Regions from separate parts of the Homo sapiens genome. Here regions 1 and 2 are each linked to region 3. The links are contacts of gene promoters, found by promoter capture Hi-C in human tissues and cell types (Jung and others, 2019). All regions are on one chromosome and are shown on one strand. Each heading gives the region's core, a stretch centred on a gene start or on the middle of the fragment in contact. The rest is flanking DNA. Distances are from core to core; before and after follow the strand shown.

Region 1 (4,409 bases), core at 619-3,118, 450 kb after region 3:
GCAGAAAACCCATTTGACAAAATCTAGCAGATTTTTATGATATAAACTATCAACTAATTAGGTGTAGGATACATGTACCTCAACATAATAAAGGACATATAAAACAAGCCCACAGCTTATATTACATCAGCAGTAAAAAGCTGAAGGCTTGCCTCTAAGATCAGGAACAAGACAAGGATGTTCACTGTCACAATTGCTGTTCAACATAGTACTAGAAGTCCTGATCATAGCAATTAGACAATAGAAAGAAAAGGCATTTAAATTGGAAAAAAAGAAGTGAAATTGTTTCTGTTTGAAGATGACATGATCTTATATATAGAAAACCCTAAAAACTCCACCAAAAAGCTTTGAGAAGCAATAAGCAAATTCAGTAAAGTTGTAGGATATAAAATCAACATGCAAAAACCAGTAGCATTTCTATACCCTAGCAACAAAGTATCTGAAAAAGAAATCAAGAAAATTTCAACTTGAGGTTTGGAGAGGCAAACATCTAAACTATAGCAAGCATCAAAAAATAAAATATTTAGGAATAAATTTAACCAAGAAGGTGAAAGGTTTGTACACTGAAAACCGTAACACATTCATGAAAGAAACTGAAGAGGGTATACATAAATGGAAAGACACCCTGTGTTCATGCTTGTTCTTTTTTTCAGATGGGCATTTTCAACCAGTGGCCATCACTGTTTTGGTTTGTCCATAATAGCCACAGTAGTTATTGTTCATTGAGCACCTACTCTGTGCAGGATTTGGAGCCTCCTTCTAGAGCCTGTGTTCTTAACCATTGTGCTTACTGCCCTTGCCCCTGTCTGGCAGAGGTACTCAACAAATGATGGCTTGTAGTTTTGAGGTTCTATGGAATGGAAAATTATTTGGGGCCACCAAACAAGTGTGTGGGGTGAAATTTAAAGTCAATTATTTATTCTTGGAAGTTAAGCCTCCTGGAAGCAGATGGAGACACAGTTCCCATTGGCACCTACACAAGCCACGCTGTCCTCTCGGCTTCATCATGGCCAGGAGGGAGCTGGCCATTCTCAGCAATGCTGTGTTGTCTCCGATGATATCAACTGACCGCCCCAGGAACCCCACAGCCTCCCCGACTCCAACCTTATCTTTGAACAAAATACCTTCCTCTGCACATCATCGAGCTGCTTGTGAGGCTTGCTTTGCTCCTCAATCAGGCTCTATTCATCTGTGACCCTAGACGTGAGCAGAGGAGCACGGGGCAGGCCCTTCTTTCCACCTGAGTGGCTGCGATATGAAGACTTGCTTTGGAACACTGAGGTGCCCTGAGCATCTCTGTGCTCCCTGGGCCCTGCACCGCTGCATGAAAGACCCTTCTTGTTCTGTGAGCGGCCGACTGTGAGATAACCGCCAAGGTGCTTTTCATGTGGCCACATCCAGGCACTCCCGTCTGCCTTGTAATCGCCAAGTTAAAGGTAACTCGATAGGCAGATAGGGAAGGAGCCTGGAACTTGGGTCTATAGCCCTTTATCCCTACTTTTAAAAAATTAAGATGGAAATAGTTTTAATTGTTAAATTCCCCCTGCTTTCTTAAATATCTCAGTATGCAATTTGGCAAGCAGCTAAGTTCATTTCTTAGTTGGAGAGAAACTAAAGCCCCTGAAATTTTAGTCATTTGCTTATGTCCTATTATTCCAGAATCATTTGGTCGTACTCATGGCTTCACAGTTGATCCAATAAGGCATGGGGTGAAGATCACAGGATGCCTTGTTATTATCTCCTGTGCAGTTCCTGCCTTCTGCCATGCTCTATTCACTCCTAGAAACAGCCAGGAGCCAGTCAGAGATAAGTGGAGTGCATGAATTCCTGAAGAGACTGAAGGATATAGTAACATATACATTGCTTTTTACTTTACTTTGGATGTTGATGTTGCCAGCAGGAAATGGCTGTCATGGAAAAACTTTACTGGGTGAACAGGGAAGAGTCGTATGCCTCTCTAAGAGTCCATCCTCCAATCTGCAATGGTAAGGGTGTGATCAGAGATTCTCTACCACACTGAGAATGGAAAATTATCTGAGACCTATTTTCAATAGTCCTGCAGGACAGCTTCCGGAAAAGAACATGCATCCTTCAAAGGTCACATTGACACCTAGATTTGCTGATCATCCTGGCCTGCCTGGGAATGAAGGAATTCCTGGGATGCTAACCTCAAGACAGTCTTGGAAAAATCTAGAAACAAGAATTTTAATTATTATAAGCAATTTTACCCTACCTTTCTGAATACATTTATTAGTAAAAACTGCAGGATTTGTGTAACATGCAAACACCTGTGCTTTGTTAGTGGTTAGCATGTGTCTCTTTCAGACTGTGGGGCATTTTCAACAGAGATCAGAGTGGCTCCATTGTAAGATGCTAGAACTGTGGTTCTCACAGGGACTAGGAGTGAGTCAAGCATTACTATTTGGGGTCTAGGATGTCAAGTTCCTAAAATAAGAATTTCATCCAAAACACTGGTAGCAACCCTGCTGAGGAACACTGGCTCTAGCCATGTTTCTTCCCCTGCCCCTGGTCTTGATCCTAGATTAGTTGGTGGTCCAGCCCATTGAGCGAACATAACAATTGGTGGTGTAGGGGTGTGGAGGGGGTGGAAGCTGCTCTGTAAAGAGAGGTGGCACTTCTACATTTACTTGTTCATTTATTTTAGGAAATATGTATTGAGCACTTACTATGTACTCTGGGAATAAAGGGCAAATAAGGCATGGTTTCTTCCCCATGGAGCTTATACTCTAGCAAGAAATGCAGCAAAAAAAAAAAAAAAATTGCTGATGACTGCTAAGAAAGAAGAAATCAAGGATGATGAGGAGCCCAAAGCAGGGTAACTGACTGGGTGAGACCCTTCAACAGGGGTCACCAGAAACCTTTTACAGGGGCATTACTGCTGGCATCAGGTCGGTGCCCCTCTGGGACAGATCCCAGAGGAAGGAGCTGGCAGCTATCTTTGCTGTTTTGCTGCCTCCACTGGTGACACCTCCAGGTGTGGGAGGGACCCAGGGGCATAGGGTCTGGAGTGGACCCACAGCAAACAGCAGCAGCCCTATGAAATAGGGGCCTGACTATTAAAAGAAAAACAAACAGAAAGCAACAACAACAACAGCATCAACAAAAAATTGTCCCCCAAAATACCCCATCCAAAGGTCAGCAGCCTCAAAGATCGAAGCTAGATAAACTCACAACCATGAGAAAGAATCAATGAAAAAATGCTGAAAACTCAAAAAACCAGAGGGCATCTTGTCCTCCAAATGATTGCAACACTTTTCCAGCAAGGGCACAGAACTGGACAGAGGCTAAGATGGATGAATTGACAGAAGTAGGCTTCAGAAGGTGGGTAATAACAAACTTGGCTGAGCTAAAGGAGCATGTTCTAACCCAATGCAAAGAAGCTAAGAACCATGACAAAACATTACAGGAGCTGTTAACCAGAATAACAAGTTTACAGAGGAACATAAATGACCTGAGGGAGCTGAAAAACATAACACGAGAACTTCACAATGCAACCACAAGTATCAATAACTGAATAGAATAAGCAGAGGAAAGAATTTTAGAGCTTGAAGCCTATCTTTCTGAAATAAGACAGGCAGACAGCATTAGAGAAAAAAGAAATAAAGGAACAAACAAAACCTCTGAGAGCTGTGGGATTATGTAAAAAGACTGAACCTACAACTGATTGGGGTACCTGAAAAAGGTGGGGAGAATGGAACGAAGTTGGAAAATATACCTAAAGATATCATCCTGAAGAACTTCCCCAACCTAACAAGTCAGGCCAACATTCAAATTCAGGAAATTGAAAGAACCCCAGTAAGATACTCCATGAGAAGATCAACCCCAAGACACATAATCATCAGATGCTCCAAGTTGAAAATGAAGGAAAAAATATTTAGGGTAGCCAGAGAGAAAGACCAGGTCACCTACAAAGGGAAGCCCAACAGAGTAACAGTGGACCTCTCAGCAGAAACCCCACAAGCCAGAAGAGATTCAGGGCCAATATTCAATATTCTTAAAGCAAAGAATTTTCAACCCAGAATTTCATATGTGGTCATACATAAGTGAAGGAGAAATAAAATCCTTTTCAGACAAGCAAATGCTGAGGGAATTAGTCACTACCAGCCCTGCCTTGCAAGAGCTCCTGAAGGAAGCACTAAATGTGGAAATGAAAAACCGTTACCAGCCATTGCAAAAACACACTGAGGTACAAAGACCAATGACACTACGAAGCAACTACCTCAACAAGTCTGCAAAATAACCAGCTAGTATCAGAATGACAGGATCAAATTAACACATGACAATATTAGCCTTAAATGTAAATGGGCTAAATGCCCTAATTAAAAGACACAGAATGGCAAACTGGATAAAGAGTCAAGACCTATCAGTGTGCTGTATTCAAGAGACTC
Region 2 (4,532 bases), core at 4-2,503, 500 kb after region 3:
CCTGTGCCATGGCAACCAGCAATATTTTAGAAGGTGAAGACTCCATTGGCTGGTGACGCCCTGATGATCCATGATGGATATTGATATTCACCATGGTATAAGTACTGGATGAGTGGGAGTCTAGGTCTGGATGTCTTTCCATGGGGAATTTCCCGACTTGAAGAGAGTTGGCATCTGAGGTTCCTTTCTAGTCTAAATTACCAATTACTATAAAATGTTAGTTGGAAGTTGACATTGGGGTCTTGCTGCATGGTGCCTCCTTAGTATGTTTTCTGTCTTATATTCAAAGATCTAGGTACAGATTTTGTCACTGCCTCTTATTAGCTAAGCAACCTTTATTAGCCAAACATGTAAACCCACGATTCTTGAACCCCAGTTCTGAAAATCTAAAAGGGAGGTGGCAATAAGCACAACCTATTTCATGGCAGTTTTGTGAAATCTTCAAGTCAAAGCAAGATGGTGCTTGTGGAAGTGCAGTCTAGCCCACTAGATGTGGAAAGCAGTCATTACTGTGGCATCATGCCTAGCTACAAGGGTACACATATGCCTACCAAGTCTTGGTTGCTGGGATGAACGTTAGTGTAGATGGTGCCCACGTTCTGTTTGGGTCAGAGTTTATAGTGCCTGACTGGATGGAAGAAACTTTTTCTGAACTTCGGGATTGGAGGATCCATGTCTATTCTGAATGGTGCTACTTGTAGTTGAGCTCTCTTTTCCAAACACAAGTTATGCATCTTGGCTCACCCATTTGTAAAGCACCCCAAATCTCTCCCTTCTCTGGCTGAAGCTTTATAAAGTGACGCCTTAAAATACACTGTAAGGGCAGAAGGGTTATACAAAGACTCCTGACAGTGGCACTGATCCTTTCTCCATCTGAGAGTGCTCAAGATCCCCTTCAGTCATTTGGTCCCATTATTTCCTGTCTGCGTGGTTTCCAATCCCAGGAATCAATCATTTCGGTGATTTCCAATCAGTGAGAGGCAAGGCAGAATTTACCAACTTCTGAGCTGTCTTTCTAGCAGAAAGATTCCATTTCTTGGACGAACCTCCACCAATTTCTATAAATTGATCTTTTGCTATGGAGAAATAAAAAAGCTATATGCATATATAGCTATATGCATACTGTAATAAATAGATATATATGCTTGCAATATATATATATTATAAATATATATATATATATATTGCTAAGTGGTACGATTCTATTTTCATAAACTTGGAATTGCACAGAGATCCCGAACAACTCAATTCTTCAAATCTTTCTTTCTTCTCTCCTTCTCTCCCTCCCACCCACACTTCCTTTCCTGAGACATTTTGATCAGTTATCTGCTGATCCTGGCTTTCTTTGGAGAAATAATCCACTGGACATCTTCCAAAGCAGCTCCTGAGAAGGGAATGGTGGTAACTCCCGTAGATATAATGGTCTTCTCTTCAAGACTCTTCCTTCCAACAAGCCCCCTTAGGACAGGTTGCCTTGCCATTCCGGAGTATGGTTAGAGCCTGGGCAGGGATGTCAGGCAGTAACTGAGTCATTCATAAGTCTGGCCACAGCACAAAAAGAGAAATCCTTTCTCTGCTCTGGACCCCCACCCCAGCCAAACAGTTACAGCTTATCTTTAAGAAGATTAGAGAACCTCTGGCTCAAGGCTGGCTTTCTTTCTATGCCAAAAGGCCTGGCAGATCAAAGTCAACATTACTTCACATAGCTGGTGGCTTATCTCCTGCCTGTCCTAAGACCACTGACCTCTCAATTAAGGCTTTAACAACAATTTCTCTTTGGAGAGGAAACCCTCATAGGCTGGAGGACAGTTTACACTACCAGACCTCTGGCTCTGACCCCACTGGCTGTGCAGTCTGTCATGACTGCTCACAATGCAATTAGGAGGTGGTTTTCAGTTCCCTTATAAAGAAAAAAATGTTATTTTTACTGAAAATATCTCCAAGTGTCCTAAAGCATTCTATTTTTCATATCTAATGAGGTGACAGTGGAATTTGTGAGATGACTATAACTTTATCAAGCTTTAATGCTAACACTCCTCTCAAATCCAGAGCTCTGTGGCGCGTTGAAGGAGACATTGATCATCCGAAGCACTGTATGATTAATTGATGCGTCTTTGCATATTCTTTTGCTTTCTCCAAGAAGTCTGCTCCTCACCTCCTGTATTGTTTCAGCCTCACTGGAGTTTCATTCCAAACATGGCTTGCTAGTTTGTGAGTTTTTAGCTGATTAAATTTAAATTGAACGCTAAAGAAAATTATTTTGTGCTCTGGCACTGAAAAACTCCCTGAAAGATGGGGACTTTTCAGACAGATATTCTAAGCCTCAGTGAATTATGAATATACAATTTTTTTTAAACTAGCAGATAAATTCCTTGTATTGAACGTCTGTACCAGTTACCCTGGAAGATACCATAGAAGAATATAGCATGTCTCTCCTCTTGAGAAGCTTACACTGTAATTAGGGAGATAGCAACACAAGGAGGGTGGTTGATTAAGTGTGAGACTATTGCAATAGATTAGAGCTCAGGGTCTGAGTCAGACAGATCTGGGTTTGAGTCTCAGCATTGCTCGTTATAATCTGTGCAGCCTTGGGAAAATTATTAAATGTTGTGAGCCTCAATTTCTTTGTCTATAAAACTTGGAAAAGCATCTGCAAACTATCTCACAGAGTTGTTGTAAGGATAAAATGACATAAAGCATGAAAGTATGTAGCCTAGTACATGGCATATGGTAAATAATAAGTGGTAACTGCTATTGTTTTACTATTATTTCCAGTAAATACTGGTAAATTCTGTAAAGTTGCTTATAAAAAATTTTACCGAGAGACTGGCAGATAGGAAGCCCTTTCCAGGGCACAGGCAGACAGGAACACCAGCTGAACATTGAGAGGACAACTGGTAAGCCCTCAGGAACCACTCGTTGGCAATTGATTTTATACACATTTTCCTAGTCATTCATATCTTATCTGCCTGCACTACTTGCTCAGAATTACTGAGGGAGCCACAAAGTTAGTTTGCTGTATTTGTTACAGATGAGGGTCAGTTGTCATTTCCATCATAAAATCCATGCTTCATGGATCTAAAGCTTGGAATTTAAAATGACACGGGGCTTAAACTCTACTTAACGCTTTTGATTTAAAACCTACTCAGAGAACAAGAGTTCTTAAGTCCACATGGCAGATAATACCACTGCTGCCTCTTTGGTATAAGTTACCTTTGAAAATGAATTCTATATCTGGCCTTGCACAGCCTTTTCAATGATAAATAGCTTTAAACAAAGAGTCATAAAAAATCAACACTTTCATAAAGCAAATAATCAACCACATTGGCTTTCTCTACGGGAGAATTAATGGTGTCTTGGGAAGGTTCCATTTTCATGCATTTTGATGATGACTTTTTAAAATGGCTACTTTAGAAAAGAATGCTTTAAGCAGAGGAAGGAGAAATATTTTTTACTATTTCCTTAGCCTCTAGAGGTATATATTTAATACATTTATATTTTTATATGAAATTTTATTTAAAGGTAAAAATGCATTACATGTTATATCAGTAAACATTTTTTCTTTTGGCTTATGAATCAAAGACATACTACAACTAAATGTACATCTGTTAGCAGACTGATCCTAAAGCATTTGACTTATAAATAATGAGATCAGTATTCCACAGGAAGTATCTGATAGCCCACATCAGCAAGGAATTTTAATTTTTTTGTTAAAAAAAAATTGCTCTGATTTCAACTTTGGAGATAAGAAAATGCTCAGAGAATTTCCCAAAGAAAGCTTGAGAAAGTTTGAAACACTTCCAGGAAATGCTCATGATCTAGTTGAAAATGTTAAGGCTCTATAGTGTCTAGTATCACCCTGTGACCCCTTATTTGTGGCATCCAGGTAAAGGGAACAGGATGGGGAAAGCTAACAGGGCTGCATCTTCATTTTCTTGTAAACACGGGTGTCTCCCATAGGCTTTTAGTTTCTACTTTCCAGGGCCCAGTGAACATATCTTCTTACCTCGGGCTGCCTTCAGAATTAGACCAAGATTCTAAGAAAAGCTATCAAAAGGCTTAGGCAAGGCTGATAAGAGAGCTTAGTTTCATAATTCAGCTAGTGAATTGGCTTTGACTGACTCATGCTGGTAGCAAGGGGCTGAAACTGCTCATGGAGTCTTGTGGATTTCTACGGAGATATGAAAGCTAAGGCATTCCAGTTTATTTCTGGGGGTAGATTGAAAAATAATGACGATGATATTGAGCAACTCCCTGTAGACTCGAGAGGTGGAGTCTACTGCCCACCCCTTGAACCTGGTCTGGCTTTGTGGCTTGTTTTGACCAGCAGAATGCAGCATAAGTTGTGTAAGTTCTGGAGCCTAGGCCTCAAGGGGCATGTAGGTTCTGCCTTTGTCCTCGTGGAATGTTTCAGCTACCATGTAAGGAAACCTAGGCAAGCTTACTGAATCATGAGAGACCACATGGAGAGATAAACCAAGCCGGCAGCCAGCATGAAGGCCCCAGGCATGTGTGTGATGTCACCTTCGACC
Region 3 (4,041 bases), core at 1,240-3,739:
TTTGAAAAAAAAAAAGGGTGACTACTCAAGACATTTTGTAAAGGGGGGAAAATTGCGAAGAAAAGAGACCTCAGTAGGGGGTGGAGGAACTGTGAATGTGTCCTTGTCTGGCGGTTCTTTCAGCTGAAACCTGGTGCTGGCGTTCGCAGTTCAGTTCAAACTGTCACCTTTAGTTCTTACTGGCTTTTCTGCCCTTGCCCCAGAACCTCAACAGATTGGGGCTTATTTACCTATTCACACTCCGCCGTGGAAGCTCATTAATAGGCTTTATTAGCAACACCATTCATGGGAGGCCATTGACGAAAGGGGTTCCAGCCACTTGAAGAGGGAAGAGAAAAGAAAAAACTGTAAAGAGATTATTTTCTCATTCAGAAGCCTCAGTGGTGTGAAGGTTTTCCTGGATGGTCTGAGGTCACTTGAAGACTAAATATGGGGACATAATTGATTTTTTAAAAATAATTCTAAACATACTTCCCCCCCCTCCTCAAAACTGAAGAGTTTCCTGTTGTGGTCTTGTGGGTTTCAGTCCCTTATATATGAGCCCTCTTTAGGGAATAAGGAGCTTTTGATAGATTGGTGTCTTTTCATTTCTATAAAAAATACATTCTGCAAACTGTGCCTGGACATGAAAGTAGGTGTTCTTATTTGTCATTTTCAGCGGAAAGCTTCCTTTCCATTCAACATGCATAAAGCTATTGATGAATGGGGGATAGGGACAGCGGCTTCCTGCACCATTAATTTATGTGAGAATGTGTTAACAGCATTTTCAATGGCTGATGGATGCGGTGTAGGATGGGAAAGGAACTGTCCTGAGACACTCGAGTTTCCCATTGGTGGGGAATATAAAGATGTAAGTGGCAACCTGCGAGCAGGCAGACACGTTCAGCTGCATCCCTTTTCTGAGAACTTGAAAACATACTGCTATCAGAACAACCCGTGTGGGAGTGAATGGCTAAGTGTCAACCTGGGCTGAGGTGTCCGTTAATGTATAGGCTCTGGGGCTAATCCAGGTTAGAGGACTTGACCAAAAACATACCCTCCCACCAAGCATATAGAGGGATAATTTTGCTTAAGAACCAGTTTTTATTTTGTTGCTATCAAATTTCCAAAATACAATGTTATAGCCTTTTGCCTGAGGCAGTTAAATGGATTTCTTACTTGTGTGGCTTTTAAATAACTTGCATAAACGTTTTCTGTGCTATATTTGTGAATAAAAATGATTTTCTAATCATGTAGCACCTTGAAAAATATTTTTGTAAATGTTATGAAGGGTGCAATGTTAGTGACACAGGTGCAAATATGTTTCTAAATCCAGGAAAAGTCTGTTTTCCAAGTCAGGTTTGTTCTCAATGCTTCATCTATCTTCAGGCCTCAAAAGGATTCTAAAGCATTTCTGGGTTTAGTGACCTTTTCTAAAGAAAAATAATTAAGGTTTTAATCTATATGGTCTTGAACTTAAGCACGGCTGCTCAGGAGCTGGATGAATAAGGAGGGAGAAAAAGCATATTTAAAATAAATTATTCCGAAGACACGGCTTAGTGAAAAGGTAAATGGACATAGGAACTTTAACCAGTTACAGCTTGGTGTGCAGTTGAAGAATCAGATTTTGCATTTATGATTTTTAATCTAAGATTCAGAGGGAGGAATTACTTTGTTCAAGGTCTATTTATGGTAGAGTTGTCTTTAGACTCCTTTGAATTTCTTTTTATTAATCCAAACATATATTATTAAACACTTTTTTTTTTTGATGCAATTTTGGCTTTTTCTGAGAGAGCCACATTCAAAGTCAGGCTGTCCTAGTAGCCAGCTGTGTGGTCCTAGGCAAATTACTTAACCTCTCTGATCCTGTTTCCTTATCAGAAACTGGGAATAGTACTCTGCAGGGTGGTTGGGCAGATGAAATAGAATCACCTATGTAGTGTGACCCTCCCATAGTAGGGCCTCCATTAATATTCAGTTTTTTCCTCTCATTTCTATTGTTTAGAAGGACAGAAACATGCAATGTCCTGCGAACATTTCCAAGTGGCTTCCTCTCCTCCAAAAGCTTCAGCTGCCTGGCAACCCTCCCCGCAGTATCAAGCAGGCGCATTTTAAAGTCTCTTTAGCGGGAGGGCAGGGTTAGAGCCTTCGGTCATTTGTTTTCTAACTTGACATAAAACAACGTAACGCAGTCGCTCAGCGAGCCGTTGGCCAGCCTCGCTCGCCCGGGGAGGAGGGAGGAGGTGGCGCGGGGCGCGGGACCAGGCCTTATTCGGAGGCTGTCGCTGCATCCCTACGGCCGCATCGCGGCCGAGCCCTCGCCTCCCGGGCCGGTGTCTCCGGCTGCTCGGAGGCGTCGGGAGCCGCGCGGGACTCGGGGCGGCCCGGGCGCGCGGCGCTGATTGGCAGAGAGGGCGCCGCCGTCCAGGAAACGGCTCGGGTTTCAGTGGGGGCGTGACCCGCCGCGAGGAGGCGGGGGCGGCGGCGGCGGCGCGGGCGGCGGCTGGAGGAGAGCGCGGTGGAGAGCCGAGCGGGCGGGCGGCGGGTGCGGAGCGGGCGAGGGAGCGCGCGCGGCCGCCACAAAGCTCGGGCGCCGCGGGGCTGCATGCGGCGTACCTGGCCCGGCGCGGCGACTGCTCTCCGGGCTGGCGGGGGCCGGCCGCGAGCCCCGGGGGCCCCGAGGCCGCAGCTTGCCTGCGCGCTCTGAGCCTTCGCAACTCGCGAGCAAAGTTTGGTGGAGGCAACGCCAAGCCTGAGTCCTTTCTTCCTCTCGTTCCCCAAATCCGAGGGCAGCCCGCGGGCGTCATGCCCGCGCTCCTCCGCAGCCTGGGGTACGCGTGAAGCCCGGGAGGCTTGGCGCCGGCGAAGACCCAAGGACCACTCTTCTGCGTTTGGAGTTGCTCCCCGCAACCCCGGGCTCGTCGCTTTCTCCATCCCGACCCACGCGGGGCGCGGGGACAACACAGGTCGCGGAGGAGCGTTGCCATTCAAGGTAATCGCCGCGCAAGACGCCTCGGGGAGCTTCGCCAGCCGGGGACGTGGGCGCCACGGGAGCCCGGGACGCCGGGTGCACCGTCCTCCGGGCGGGGGGCGCGGAAGGACTAGCATTGTGGAGGACGCTCCGTGTCCTCCCTCTGTGGCTGCATAGGTGATGGGGGAGGTGGGTGCGTGCTGACGGCCGGCGTTCTGGAAGTTCTGCCTCTGCTACCCCCATCCAGATGCTGACATCTGCTTCTGGCGTTGACGCCCCCCTCCCTGTCAAACCCTGGCGGGCGCATTCCCGCTGACTGGGCGCGTTTCTCCGACCCCAGAGCAGACGGGCGGAAGGTTCGCCTGCCCGTGGCACAGCCCCGCAGGCCGGTTCCCGGGGTCATCTCCGAGGTGCCCCATCCGTGTGTCCTGGGAACTTCCGTACCATCCAGGCCCTGCGGAGACCCCTTTTTCGGGAGGGGGCCGCTGGGGTGGGGCCGGTGACATCCCGTAGGGGTGGCGATGGCCAGGGGTGGCACTGCTGGGGAGGCGACGGCTCCGGTGCCTGGGCGCCCCTCGCCCGCAGCCGCCGTCGGCGCTGGAGGGAGCGCAGTGCGCCTGGGGCTAGGGGGCGAACTGGACCGACTTTTTCTAGTTCGCCTGCCTGCTCTGCCGCAGCGGCTGGGAGATGTCGAAAGCGCAGGCGAGTTCTAACTTGCGCGCTCATTTTTTTCGGCCACGGGGCCGCGCTGGGGAAAAAAGCCGAGGGCCCTGCGTGGCGCTGGCTCCGACCCTCGCGGACCACGGACCTGGCGCAGGAGGCCCGCTCGGGGACCACCAGCCTCCGTCGCTCTCCTCGCACCCCGCTCCCTTGCAGACCGTTCTCCAGACCCTCCTTCCTTTCTCCCAATTCAATAAAACCTACCCTTAAAGGCAAACCTGCTTTCAAACTCAGGGCACCCATTATGTGTTTGGTGTGAAACGCTATCAACATTTAAAACTCCATTGTCTCCCTGGTCCCAAATCCCTGTAAATCTTCCACCGGGCTCGACTCATTTTCATCTGAAAAGCCTGTTTAGTTTGAATAGAAAA

The links. The method cuts DNA at HindIII sites, captures the fragments that hold promoters and counts their contacts. A contact is called where the count stands out against the background at its distance.
Region 1: a fragment that was not itself captured here is called in contact with the fragment with the promoter of FGFR2 in region 3 in 1 of the 25 tissues and cell types used here (dorsolateral prefrontal cortex).
Region 2: a fragment that was not itself captured here is called in contact with the fragment with the promoter of FGFR2 in region 3 in 2 of the 25 tissues and cell types used here (mesendoderm cells and thymus).

The regions. Positions count from the first base shown.
Region 1 is chr10:121,145,946-121,150,354 of GRCh38, reverse strand. All of the region lies in intron 1 of LOC124902515 (a long non-coding RNA gene), which reads left to right. The region is part of intron 1 of LOC105378522 (a long non-coding RNA gene); the gene reads right to left. Among named protein-coding and RNA genes, the nearest start is that of LINC01153, 30 kb to the left of the region's middle. The HindIII fragment of the contact is 5,059 bases long and covers 1-4,397 here.
Region 2 is chr10:121,096,955-121,101,486 of GRCh38, reverse strand. No RefSeq gene overlaps it. Among named protein-coding and RNA genes, the nearest start is that of LINC01153, 79 kb to the left of the region's middle. The HindIII fragment of the contact is 5,713 bases long and covers 1-4,109 here.
Region 3 is chr10:121,596,892-121,600,932 of GRCh38, reverse strand. It overlaps FGFR2 (fibroblast growth factor receptor 2), which reads left to right and starts at 2,489. Exons shown (of 18, transcript NM_000141.5): 1 at 2,489-2,971. RefSeq lists enhancers at 3,283-4,018, 4,019-4,041. The HindIII fragment of the contact is 2,645 bases long and covers 1,356-4,000 here.